Regions from separate parts of the Homo sapiens genome. Here region 1 is linked to region 2. Evidence: promoter capture Hi-C in 16 types of primary human blood cells and fetal thymus (Javierre and others, 2016). All regions are on one chromosome and are shown on one strand. Each heading gives the region's core, a stretch centred on a gene start or on the middle of the fragment in contact. The rest is flanking DNA. Distances are from core to core; before and after follow the strand shown.

The links. Contacts are between HindIII fragments. The CHiCAGO score rates a contact against its expected background, and 5 or more counts as called.
Region 1: a fragment that was not itself captured here is called in contact with the fragment with the promoter of METTL24 in region 2 in 1 of 17 cell types (total CD8 T cells); the score reaches 5.3 in total CD8 T cells.

Annotation. Positions count from the first base shown.
Region 1 is chr6:109,711,688-109,718,927 of GRCh38, reverse strand. FIG4 (FIG4 phosphoinositide 5-phosphatase) reads right to left here. Exons shown (of 23, transcript NM_014845.6): 2 at 3,752-3,850; 3 at 2,360-2,483. Among named protein-coding and RNA genes, the nearest start is that of FIG4, 24 kb to the right of the region's middle. The HindIII fragment of the contact is 4,131 bases long and covers 34-4,164 here.
Region 2 is chr6:110,357,086-110,363,990 of GRCh38, reverse strand. It overlaps METTL24 (methyltransferase like 24), which reads left to right and starts at 5,642. Exons shown (of 5, transcript NM_001123364.3): 1 at 5,642-6,036. The coding sequence starts at 5,719. RefSeq lists an enhancer at 3,011-3,305. The HindIII fragment of the contact is 9,659 bases long and covers 170-6,905 here.

The DNA.
Region 1 (7,240 bases), core at 850-3,349, 640 kb after region 2:
AAAAAAATGTAATAAGGTATCAACATTTAAGCTTAAACTATTAAGTAACTATTATTTAAATTAGAGTCTACTATATTTTAAACACATTTTATTTACAGTATTTTTTTCTTAAATTTAAAATATAAGCAGGACTGAAAGTGGAATTTAACATACTGGCATTTATGGCATTTAAGCACATGAACTCACGTGACACATACAGACATACACATTCCCACAAACACTCATCCATTCAACATGTAACCTCAAGGGCCTTCTCAAGACTAAGCAAAAGGCATAGAAAAGGGGCCAGGCCTGAGGAGAAGAAACCAGTCATGTTATACTACTCTTTACCTTCCCCTGCAGCCACCTAACACACAAAATGAGCCTAAAGGGATTACGTATGAAGAGCAACGACAGTATTCTTAGAAAAGCAAACTCCAAGGATGGCAGAATATAATCAAAGTTTTCATAGACATACAGTCACAAAATAGAAAGTGCTAAACAGAAGACCCAAAATAAGAATCTGAAAAACATATAGCATAGTCAAGTCCATATTAATTTTGTTAATATCTGTAGAAACCACTGATACGGTTTGCATTTGTGTCTTCACACAAATCTCATGTTCCATTGTAATCCTCCATTGTTGGAGATGGGGCCTGGTGGGAGGTGCCTGGGTCATGGGGATGGATGATTGAATGGTTTACAACCACCCCTTTGGTGCTGTTCTCGTGATACAGAGTTGTCATGAGATCTGGTTGCTTAAAAGTGTTGCTTAAAAATGTGTGGCACCTCCCCCACCATTCCTTAATTAAGCTCCAGTCATCTAAGACACACCTGCTGTCCCTTCCCCTTCTGCCATAATTGTAAGTTTCCTGGGGCCTCCTAGAAGCAGAAGCTGCTATGCTTCCTGTACAGCCTGCAGAACCATGAGCCAATTAAGCCTCTTTTCTTTATAAATTACCCAGTCTCAGGTATTTCTTTATAGCAATGCGAGAACGAACCAATACAACCACTTAATATTACACACAGTCCAGTAGGTTTAAGAAACACAGAGATAATTTCCTAAGTGTTTACAGAAAAAAAGACTCAAAATAAGGTGCTGGCAGCAGAGATGCTAAAATACAATAGCCCTCTGCTTTGGCTTTCAAAGCCCAAAGCAATCTGGCCTTGCCTGACTACTCCCCAGCATTCCCAGCACCTCTGGGTACCTTCATGTATGTGCCTCTGCTGTCACCCTTACTGGAGTTCCCTCTTTTCTTCTCTGCATTTATCCATACCTTGTTCCTCCTTCAAGGTACAGCTCAAGTCTCATCTACTATAGGAAATCTTCCCTGGCCATTCCAGGTCCAAGTAATTTACCTCTTCTGTGACCTCCAACACCATTTAATTCATACTACACAGCTTGGCTCTTACTTATAATCTTAGAGTTGTTTCATGTACATTGGATTTTATCCTCTGCCACAGACCAATCAGGGACAAACCCATAGTACAGTAAAGACAGGTTTATTGATTCACCACAAGGAGGGACAATGCATATCAGAGAAACCATGGAGCATCTTGCTAAAGTAAAGGAGTTATTACAGAATTGGGGGAAAGGTGGAGCTCAGGTAAAATTTAAATGAAGAGGCTCAAACCAAAGCAAGGTGATATTTAAAGAGATCAATATCACGTTTGGACTATGAAGTAGACCAAGGGTCCTGTTTCCTTGAAAACAACAGAATCATCATATCTATGGACTACTGTGTTCAGAAACCTCGTCTCTGAAGCTCTGCACCTGAGTTGGTAAACCAAAGCTGCTTCTCTGTGTCACAGTGACTTGGGTTGTCCAAGTAAATGTGGGATGTTTTATCTTACTAACACAATTTCAAACAGTGAAGTTTCTGATGGTCTGTGATTTTAGAAACCAAAGTTTCTCAGTGAGTTAAAAAAAAAAAAAAAAAGCAGTCATCCAAAGAAGGGGGTTATGACATTTTATAACTATAGACTAACCTTAGGAGAAATTCCTATTAATTTTAAATCCAGTTTTACGTGATTTGTTACTCCAGCTGACGAATGGCAGGGTGGATGTTTACAGTCCAGTCCAAGCTAATTTTTACTTTTTCATTCATCAATGAGACAGACAGCAACCTCCTCAAAGGCCAAAAACATTTTGATATTTGTTTGTATCCTAAATAAAACTGAGCAGTGCTAAGTGCATAAGCAGATGCTACAGAAACGCTGTTTGCTATCTGATTGATGGATAATGAAGTTTTAAATAACCAAAGCTACAGGTAATTATAATTTTAAAGCCTTATAGCCTTATAAACTCCTTTAAGTAGTCTATGTAGAGAAGACAAAAACAAAAAACAAGAGATTGTAAGAAGGGGGGCAGATTTCTTACCCACAACACCAAAAGCTGAAACCGCTCGAAATAAGCCCGAGGATCCTTTCTGTCCCATCTTTGTTCTATTTCCAAGATCCAAGCGGCCAAGAAGTTCCCTTACTTCTTGTTGAGTATAGACATGCTAAGAATAAGCACATTTACTCTGTAAGGTTGTGCTTAAACTTTAGATTATTTATTATTTGTGCCTGAAAGTTAAAAAGTTACCTACAAGCATCATCAGCTATTTCATACAGAAGTATATAATAGTACACAAGTAAGCTACAATTTTAAAAAGCTAACAAGTTCTTTAACATTAGCAATTAAGGTTGGTTATTGGATCATGCTGCTATACTAAAAAAAATGTCCAAACCTTATACTCTAAACCAGAGATGCAGAGATTTAAGGGATCTACAGGTAAATTTCAAGAGTCCATGAATCCCTTAAAACTATGTGCAAAATTTTGAGTAAATGTGCATCTTTAACGAGAAGGCCCATAGATTTTCTTAACATTTCAAAGGGCTCTCTGACCAATTGCTCCGATCTCCAAATAAAGCCAAGAACCATTACATTATATTGTTAAAAATGCTCAGATAGGTGGGGAGCAGAATGGACCCCAGGAGTAGCATGGGAAATCGTAACAAAGAATTTATCTAAAATTATTACAACACAGAAAATAGTTTTGTTACAAGTAGCTTAGTGAAAATGGATTCCAAACTGTAGTTACTACATATTTGAGAAACCAGGAATCTTTATGGATTCCGAAATAGTCACAGACAGGAATTTCAACACAAAAGATAACTTGAGTTCTTTTGTGTGAACAGTTAAACTTAACTGTTCAAACCACCATATAGTATTTCACTTTTGACTAACAGCTTCAGGTTTTTGTGCCATCTGAATTCCAGCCTCTGTATTCTTGACTCTGGATAATCTAACTCTGGATAAGAACAGCTTAACATTTCCTTAGTGTATAGCAAATCATCAGTAAAGGTCCTAGAGGTGATTTTTAGGAGGAAAATAAAGTCTGTAGCATAGAAGTCCTCCCTGACTTCAAGTAGCTTGATATTAAAGAACCATAACAGATCGTCTCTTTGGCAGATACAATATTAAGTTACACTGAATCCTTAAAATGTCAGCCCTCTTTAAGAAACAATACTCATTATCTTATCCTAAGAGTGTGTTTTCGAAAACAAGTCAAAACGAGGGGCAAAGTATAATTCTGGCGTACTTCTTGACACCAGTGATTTCTAGAAATCAGATTGGAGATTCAAATTCTAGCCAACCAAGAAAAATAACGGAAACTTTTAGATTTATGATAAAAATAATATATCACTAAAAACTGTAAGGATATTTCATGTCCTTTAAACAACAGGTATGAAAGTTTTTTTGCAGTCAGGTTTGGAGGATACTTACCCTGTCATCAATTATGACCAAATCTTTTGGTTCTGTTCTATCAATCTTCAAGACACGATATTTCGTTTCTGCATTATTGCTCCCAACTAGAAAGTATCTCTATAAATAAAAAGGAATGTCATTAGTTTATCAAAGCATTTTGCCCTATACACATTTTATACCACTTTAGTTTTTGAAATTAAATACATTAATAAAGTCAGGTTACTTTTTAAAGAAATATTTCTGTTATGTATAACTGGCAGATTAAAGAAAAGCTGACTCCAAAAGGTCAATTTTAAAATTAAAATATTCCTAGTGGTTTCATGATAAAGATCAGTCTGATGTCTGAAATGTGCCCAGTAACCAGGTCAGATGAATTTAATTGTCATAAATTTAGAGATTAATCTAACTGATTGGAGGCTGATGTTTAAGCTTTACCAGGAAGAAGCTCTGGTAAAAATTCTAAAGCTCAACATATAATTAGGAACGCTTAGGCAATTATAGCTACTAAAGTACTGACAGCTTATCAAAAAACTACTTACAAATTTTCATAAATGTCTGCAAATGTCTTTAATATAGTAACTATAAAATCTACCCAAAAGTCCCATAAATGATTAAAATGGTTGTCCTTCCCAAATGACCTTTTATAGATAAGCTACAAGAAATTATCATCATTCTTTCTTTCCTAAAACAGTTCCTTGGAGCGTTCTGACTAAACACAATCACATTAGTCTTATTAAATAAATACTGAAGGGGTGCTGGGCAAGATGGCTGACTAGAGGCAGCCAGGCGGAACAGCTGCCACCAAGGGACCAGGACAACTGGAGCACTCCTAACAGATCTTCAGAGGGAAGGCACTGAGAGTGGTGGAGGGAAGACACAGAAGCTGGGCTGAAGAGGGAAGAAGCTGGGAACCCTGCATGGGACTACCATGCACTGGCATTCATTCCTGGCCCCCAGTGACTCTGGGGGAATGGGTGAGTTGAACTGGTAAGGAGAAACTTACTCTCGCCAAGGCCTCTGGAATCCTGACAGAAGGAGACTCCCTGACCATCACAGACACTCGAGTTGGCAGGAAGAGCTGCTCAGAGAAGTGGTAGGGGCAACACGCTGGCTTATGCAGAGCCCAGAGGGTTTGGTATGGGAGCGTTTGTAGTGGAGCACAGCCAGGGACACTCATCCCCCTAGGGTTGACTTGTTCCCATAGGAGACTTTAGCCCTAGGGGAACTGTCGGACCTGAACTCTGCAGGGCGCTCTTGCCCATCAGACTGGACAGTCAACCTGAGCACCCCTTGGTCTGCTGACCTCTCTCCCAGGGCCCCAGCCCTGCTTGCAGGGAAGCCTTAGGTGTCCTGGGGGCCTGCATCAGAGACCCTGTGCTGGTGGACTGGCACCTGATTGGTGAAGAGCTCTAGTGGGGTGGCCCCCATGGCCACCCAGCAGCCCACCCTCTCCCTCCCTCCACTGCAGCTTCCCGCAGGCTCACTGCCACTTCCAACATCACTCTGCCAACATGTGTGTGCGCAGGTGGGTTTTGTCTTCCTTGCCCTACCAGTGCACGTGTGCGCATGTACCCTGTCCTGCCACTGCTGCAGTTGGGGGTGCAATCCACCTCCCTCCTTCAGCTGCACTGCCATTGCAGCTGGAGCCTTGGTGGGCACAGAGCCAGCCTGCCCCGTCCTCATCCCACCCCTGTGCCAATGCTGCCATGGGAATGAAACTATGCACAGAGGCCAGTGGACCTTCCCCAGCCCTCAGTGACCACCACTGCCTGCAGCACACAGAGAGTGTATATAGACCTGCACCTACCAGTGCCCTGCCCCTGTGCTAACAGGATCACCATGATGACTGCATGCACAGTCACCAGCAGGGCCTCCCCCGCCCCCTCAGCCATGCTGCCTCTGCTGCTGCTGTGAATGCCCACATGGAGGCAGGCACCTGCTGGCATCCTGCTGCAGCCACCATGCTTTCGCTGCCACTGGCACATGCGAATGAGGACATATCCCACCGCCACCGCACCATGAAATGCTTTGGCTGACACCACCCATCAAAGCATAGTGACCAGCAGTCACTACACGTTGGCACCCTCAGCGCATCGGATACCTAACCTCGAGGAGCCAGAGAACAAAGTCAGAGCCCAATACGAGTATTCCAGAGTTAGAGCACACAGTCCAGGAGTTGGCAGCTGAACGTTGGCCCCCTATAATCTTCCAGAAACAATACCTGTCGACTGAATCCACCTGATCCCACAATCGAACCCTTAAGGTCATCAAATAGGATAAAAGAAAAAAAGGCCATATAAAGGTCAACAGCTTCAAAGATTGAAGAAACATTAGCCCACAAAGATGAGAAAGAACCAGTGCAAGAACTCTGACAACTCAAAAAGCCAGAAGTGCCTTTTTTCCTCCAAAACAACTGCACTTTTCTCCAGCAAGGGTTCTGAACCTGGCTGAGATGGCTGACATGACAGAAATAGAATTCAGAATAGGAATAGAAATGAAGTTCATTGAGCTACAGGAATATGTTGAAACCCAATCCAAGGAAGCTAAAAATCATGATAAAACATGACAGACAAAATAGCCAGCATAGAGAACATTTCTGACCTGATAGAACTGAAAAACATACTACAAGAATTTCATAATGTAATCACAAGTACTAATAGCAGAACAGACCAAGCGGAGGAAAGAATCTCAGAGCTTGAAGACTGGCTTTCTGAAATAAGACAAGAATAGAGAAAAAAAAAGAATGAAAAGGTATGAACAAACCCTCTGAGTAATGTGGGATTATGTAAAGAGACTGACTCTACGACTCACTGGTATACCAGAAAGAGAATGGAACCAACTTGGAAAACATATTTCAGGATATCATCCATGAGAAATTCCCCAACCCATCTAAAGAAGCCAACATTCAAATTAAAGAAATGCAGAGAACCCCAGTCAGATACTCACTAGAAGATCATCCCCAAGGCACATTATCATCATATTCTCCAAGGCCAAATGAAAGAAACAATGTTAAAGGCAGCTAGAGAGAAAGGTCAGGTCACCTACAAAGGGAAGCCCATCAAACTAACAGTGGACCTCTCAGCTGAAGCCCTAAAAGCCAGAAGAGATTGGGGGCCAATATTCACCTTCTTGAAGAAAAGAATTTCCAACTCAGAATTTCATATGCAGCCAAACCAAGCTTCGTAAGCAAAGGAGAAATACATCCTTTTCAGACAAACATGCTGTGGGAATTTGTTACCACCAGAACTGCCTTGCAAGAGCTCCTGAAAGAAGCACTAAATACGGAAAGGAAAGACCATTCTCAGCCACTAGAAAAACACCCTGAAGTACACAGACCAATGACACTATAAAGCAACCACATAAACAAGTGTGCAAAATGACCGCTAACATCCTGATGATAGGTTCACACGTATCAATTCTAACCTTGAATGTAAATGGACTAAATACCCCATTTAAAAGGCACACAGTGGCAAACTGGATAAAGGACTAAGACCCATCAGTATGCTG
Region 2 (6,905 bases), core at 4,393-6,892:
GCCTGGGCATTAAGACATTCCCCAGGCATTTTCCATAAGACCAGCCCAGAGCCAGCCTTATTTGGTTGTGGAATAGGCAGTGGTGTGATTTTAGGCAGGGCTCCCAGCCTCAAATAGCAGTTCCAGTGTCTGTCATTCTATTATAACTTTGTTCTAGGTCTCGAAAGCTTTCATTGTGGTGGGTTCTTTCTTGAACACAGATGTTTCTGTTAGGGTCCTAAGTCATGGTGAGCTAGTATCTTTCTTATTTATTTATTTATTTATTTATTTATTTGAGACAGGGTCTGACTCCATCATCACCCAGGCTGGAGTGCAGTGGCATGATCTCGACTCACTGCAGCCTCAACCTCCCAGGCTCAAGCAATCCTCCTATCTTAGTCAGCCTTTCGAGTAGCTGGGACCATGGGAACACAGCACCATGCCTGGCTAATTTTTTGGTATTTTTGGTAGAGATGGGATTTCACCATGTTGCCCAGGGCGGTCTCGAACTCCTGAGCTCAGATAATCCACTCACCTCAGCCTCCCAAAGTACTGGGATTACAGACCTGAACCACCTTGCTCGGCCTGAGCTAGTATCTTAACATTTAGCTACACCTTTAGGGTGGAGAGGAGAAAACTAATTGACAGCCCAGTGAACACAAATCCTACCTGGGATGTGGCTTGGGATTGGCATTTGAGGGGAGTTGAAGAATGGGTTCAAGTGTAGCAACAGGAGAATAGGAGGAAACTAAAAATAAACTGTGCTTAGTTCATCCTTCTGTTAGGCGCTGGCTTAAGGCTATCCTTTGAGGTTTCCCAACAATAACAAAGGAATATTTGATGGCTTTAAATGGGATTAAAACAGCCTTTTTTGGTGGACTTAAAAATTAATGATAGAACTTCACACTGAAAGACTTATGATTTTGCCTTCATGTAGCATTCTACTCTTAAGAATTTAATGTGACAAAATAACTATGAATGCACACAGACTTGATTCATTCCTCACTCTTTAATTCAACAACTATTTATTGAGCATATACTACATGCCAGATACTGTTCTAGGCACCAGGATTATAGCAATAATCAATGGAAACAAAGTCCCTGACCTCGTGGAGCTTACATTCTAGTTGGGGAAGACATCATAAACAAGGCATTATGTTACCAAATCTCAGAGTCAGTTTCCAGTCCACATCTTATTAGACCTCTCAGTGTGTTCCTTCTAGAAATACTCTCTTCATTTGGTTTCTGGAACACCACATTCTCTTACCTTACTGCTTACCTATCTCAGTAGCCTTTGTTGGATGCTCATCTTCCTGACTTTAAACTGGTGAACCCCAGAACTAAGCCTTCAGATATTTCACACCTGTATGCTGACGATCCAGTTTTCTATTTCCAGCCCTCACCACTCCCCTGAATTTCAGTCTTTTAGATCCAACTGCCTATGCCACATCTCCATTTGTATGTCCAATAGGTTTCCCAAACTTAACGGGACTACCAAAATCTTACTGGATTTTCTACTCTAATTGCTCTTAGTTGAGTCTTTCCCTTCTCAGTTAACAGCAACTTAATTCTTCCAGTTACTCAGGAAAAAACCTCGGAATCATTCTTGACTTCTTTCTTTCTCTCACACTGCATATCTGCTCCATCAGATTTAGCTACAAAGATGTCCATCACAGCATTGTTTATAAAAATGAAAAACTGGTAATTATCCAACTGTTCGACAATGGAAGAATGGTTAATATGGTACATGTTGTAGTTAACAGGTTACTGTTTAAGGACATTTTCCATATGGAAAATTTCGTACATGCTCAAAAATAAAGAGCTGTGAACCCATCATCTAGCTACAACAATGATCAACTCACAGCCATTCTTGCTTCATTTTTACTCCCACTTCTCTCCCATCTCCCCACTAGATTGTTGTTAAGCAAATTCCAAACAACATATTATTTAATACATAAACTATATAACATATTATGTTACAAAAGCACATTATAAAGAAATATATATAATATGATTTCATTTTTGAAAACCATCTACATGTGTAGGATAGCTATATCTGAATCGTGTTATGAATGTTGGTATCTTCTTTTGCTTGTGTATATTTTCCACAGTGAGCATGTACACTGAGAAAAGGTGATGAGAGGATGGCGGATGTTGATGTCAGACATTCTAACTTCATTCTTTTGTAAATTTGATCACTTTAATTCAGACTGGGTGATATGGTTTGGATGTTTGTCTCCTCCAAATCTCATGTTGAAATGTGACTTCCAGTGTTGGAGGTGGGGCCTAGCGGGAGATATTGGATCATGGGGGTGGATCCCTCACGAATGGCTTAGCACTATCCCCCCTTTGTGATAAGCGAGTTCTTGCTCTATTAGTTCATGGGCGATCTGATTGTTTAAAAGAGGCTGGCAGCTCCTTCCTTTCTCTCTTGCTCCCATTCTCACCATGTGATGCACTGGCTCACCCTTTGCCTTCTGCCATGACTGTAAACTTCCTGAGGCCTCACCAAAAGCAGATGCTGGCACTATGCTTCATGTACAGCATGCAGAACCAAGAGCCAATTAAACCTCTTTTTGTTATACATTACTTAGCCTCAGGTATTTCTTTATAGTGACACAAAAAAGGACTAACACACTGGGTATGTCACATTGTGAGATATAAATAACCACTTGATGAAGGTGAGGATACTATCGGCTCTGTTTTCTCTTTGGACAGTCTATAATTTAAAATGACCACATTGGCATCTATAGTTACAGCAGGTTTTCTCAACTTAGGCTCTCCTGACATTCTGGGCTGGACAAGTCTTTGTTGTGGAAGGCTATCTTTTGCACTGGAGGAGGCTTAGCTGCATCCCTAGTCTAATAGGTAGCCATTAGACGCCAGTAGCATCCTCCAGTGGTAACAACCAAAAACATCTTCAGACATTGCCAAATGTCCCCTGGGAGGCAAAACCAACCCTGGTTGAGAATCACAGCACTACAGCAGGTGTCCAAGTTGAAATGCATGTTGTTTAGGAGATTAGAAATGTTCTGTTTCACACATTTTTCTGGCTAAAACCTCTAGGAGGATGTAATCTGTGATCTGATGAAAGCCGCTATTGTGGTTTACTGACCTGCTTGTTTAATTAACCAGCCTATGACACAGCGGTTAATGATTATCTGCATTTTTGAGACACATCCAGAAAGGACTGAGACAAGTTCAACTCTATAAGAAAAGCAAAGGTCGTGAATGAAAGATTGCTTGTCAGCTACAACAGTGATCCATTAGATTTGCCTCTTCAGCCCACAGACTGACCCATTTTACTATTCATTATCATCCACCACACAGGAAAACACTGTGTGGAAGTTAAAAATAGGTTTCTTCCAGAAAATTGATGCTACATACATATAAACGGTTCTTTTTTATTAGTAATAAACACATAGACATAAACACAACTGCAAAAGATAAAAGGCTATTTAAATATTCCATGTAATTTGAATTTTTTTCCATAATGAAAACATTTTATTAGAGAACTGTAGAAATGAGATAAAGGAAAATATGAGGTCATCCTGCCCATTCTCTTCAAGAGCTACACTGTTTTGTATGCACCCCCACTCCATCCTCCACCCCCAGCCCAGAGTCTTATTAAATATCCCCATTTTAATAATATAGGAGAGTGCTTATGCTTCCCCACCCACCCCCAGAGAGAAACTCAACAGAGGAGCAGAGGGTACGCACTAGTGGCACCATGATCTTCAAAATATGACTTCTCTAGTTAGCGGCACTGTGTTGACTGCATAGAAAATAAAACTTCCAGCAAAGTCTACATCAGACATTACCAATCCAGGTTTATCAAGCACCCTACAAACTCTGTCTTAAAGAGCCTTATACAACTTAACAGAGTTCGTTTCTTGATGATTAATTGTTATTTTCTTGAAATTATTGGGTACTCTGAATTCCAGAGAATGCTGTATAAATTATTTGTAAATTTCCTTATACTTTATCTTTGCCCACTTTGGAATCAATGCTTACCTTTTGTTTTTCATGACAACATCCAGGATTTTCTTCCATGGTAAATAACAAAATAATTACTATTGAGACCCTTCTGTGAGCCAGTATTATTTGGGCATGAAACATATAATATTTTATGCAACATTTATAATCCTGCCATATATATAGATCTGTTTATTCATGGGAAAACGGAAACTCAGAGAGGTCCAGTACTTCGTTGAAAGTCTCATAGTGCTTGAACGGCAGGGTCCTGGTTCAAACACAGTTCAAGTAAATAGTCACAGGATGTGAGGCTGGCTCTCAGTTTGTGTAAGGAAAAACTCGTACTTGTTTAAATTTGTTAAAATAGAACCCATCTGCAATATCCCCTGGACTCATCTAAGAAAAAAGCAAAAGTCAATCCTAATGGAACGTTCAGGAGCCTGAGGATCTGGTGTGGCCAGGGGGTGGACTAGACTGGGTGGAGATATTTTGTTACATGTAGAGAAACAGCCCAAGTGCTTTGTTCACTAGCAGGGAATAAATTGGGTCTTTCTTAAGCCAGGAAGAGAAGAGGATTTTAGAGACGAGGGCTTCCTACGGAAAATACCCAACATTCAAAAGGGCAGGGGGGTAGGGCCCCATATTTGTTCTCTCTTGTCCATGCTGTAGGCTGTTACGGGGGAAGAGGATAGGTCTACAGGCGCAGTCTCCCATGGAAGCATGGAAAATGCAAGAGTAAAGCAAGGAAAAAAAGAAAAGTGACTACAGCTTAAAAAAATCTAAACCCAAACTCAAACCTAAAACCCAAACCCACCCCAAATGGGTTGTGGGAAAGGATTCTACTAACAATTGAAAATGGAACATCCACCACTGGACTTCAGGCTGTGAGAGTTCAGTCTGATTAATTAAGGTCAAGGTGGTGATGGAAATACCAGCTGGGGAGCATTTTGCCGAAAGATAAATTTGTCCCTCTGTATTTCTGCGAGACAGCAGGGAGGTGTGTGTTTGGAGCTAAATTAATTTGATTTACATCATGCCATGGTAACTTCTGTTCTCTCTCCCCCCTCCTCACCAACCCGCTGTCAGATGTCTTAGCTGGCTTTTTCCCTCTTCTTCTTCACCCCCACACATTTCATAACACGGAAAGAAAGCACGAATTGGCTTCAGGCAGAATTTAGACATAGAATAACTCTAATTTGATTATTCTGCATTGAGTGCTATTCTCTTCGCCCCCCAATCCCTTTCTTTCTTGAGAGAGAGAGAGAAGTTGTAAGCCCGGGCATAAGTGCTATTTATTTTTATATTGTGCTTAATGGTGCAAACTGCTTGACTGTTCCTTGTATGCTCACCTACCCTCCTCCTGTGTTTCTCCAACAACACTAATACCAGAAAATGAAGTTATGGCCCGGGATCCCGTTAGGAATGCGCTTTTTCTGGCCCTATGTCTTTCAGCTCCGTCAGGCTTTGGAGGCCGGGGCGGAGGGCACCTCTTGAGGGACCCTGTACAGCCGGGCCCTGGCACCTCCGGAGGGGCGGAGAGGGCCCCCTGTGACCGCGTTCGGCCCACCACCGTTCCAGCGGCGGGGCGCGCTCGGCAGGGCAGGATAAGGTTACGCCGGGGCTTCCTCGGTCGGGAGGGAGGGAGGCGGGTCCGAGCCCGCACCCCGGCCCGCGGGGGAGTTCCCACAGTTGGCCGCTCCGGCCTGTGGGGCTACATCCCTGCTGCCGGCCAGGCGCGGCCCGCGGGACCCCGAGTGTAGCGCCATGGCCCGGGAGAGGCCGCCCGGGAGGGGCTGCGGCGTCCTGCGCCGGTGTCTACTCGGGGCTGTGCTGTTGTTCGGCCTGCGGCTCTGCGCAGAGCTGCGGCGCGCCGGGCCCGGGTCCCCCACCCGCAGCGCCCCGCCGGGCCCGGCCTGGCGGCCACCTGGGCCGCACCTGCCGCCCGCGCCGGGCCAGCCGCGCGGCGCCAGCAGGAGGCAGGTGACCTACGTGCGCAGCGGTCGCCGGGCGCCGCCGGGGGGCGGCGGGAGCGGGACGCCGGAGCCTGGCTGCTGTGCCCCGCGCGGGCGCCCCCGCCGGAAGGTCAGTTGCAAAGCGGTCGGTCTTGGGCCTGGGACCAGAAGCCCCCTCCCGACCGCGCTACGGAGCCCGGCGCTCAGGTCCCGCAGGCCGCCTCGATGGGACCTCCGGAGGCTTCCGCTTCTTCTCTTCCCCCTGTGCTCTCTTAGGCGGCTCCACGGGTCGCATCTTTCAGTGCCCAGATAGACTGAAGTGCGGCCAAGCGGAGTTCATTCACTATTCAGCCAGTACTTGGGGGTCGCCGTGGCCGGGCGCCCTTCTAGGCTCCGCGCATCCCGTGAAGAAGGACGGAGCCCTGTTCTCACGGAGGATACACTTTAGTAGGGGAGTGTTTGCGTGATAGGCAGGGAAAGGGAAAGGGAAAGGAAGGCGTTGTGGCTGCCATTGATGTGCTGTGCTGCTCCCAGCCTTCTGCTTAAGGCCTGGACAGAGTTGGGTGGGTATCGCCGTGAATGGCCTGTCCACGCCACTGCCTTCATCTCGCTGAAGATCCACCAGCTGGCCGAATTTCCCTGGAGTCTCATTCCAGGCGTTGGCTGGGGGCTGGGAGGCTGGCGCCAGTTGAGAAGCCGAGCACCCAGCCCCACTTAATGAGAAGTTAATTGGATCCTCGAGGACCCAAGTAATAACCTGGGTTTGTCTTATAACTCTCGACCGTGTTGTGCCTCCTACCTCATTAACTTCTTGGCTTACACCTCACTGATTAGTCCATTTTTAGCCTCTGATTGTTAAGGTTTTGGGCTCATCTCCTTTTTGGAGCTCGGTAATTTGCGTCGTACATGGAAATGAAAAGAACTACAGGTATGAGCTCTCCTCATCCTTTTACCCATCAACTCCTGCTTCCAGCCTCAACCACGTTCTCCAAAGCAACT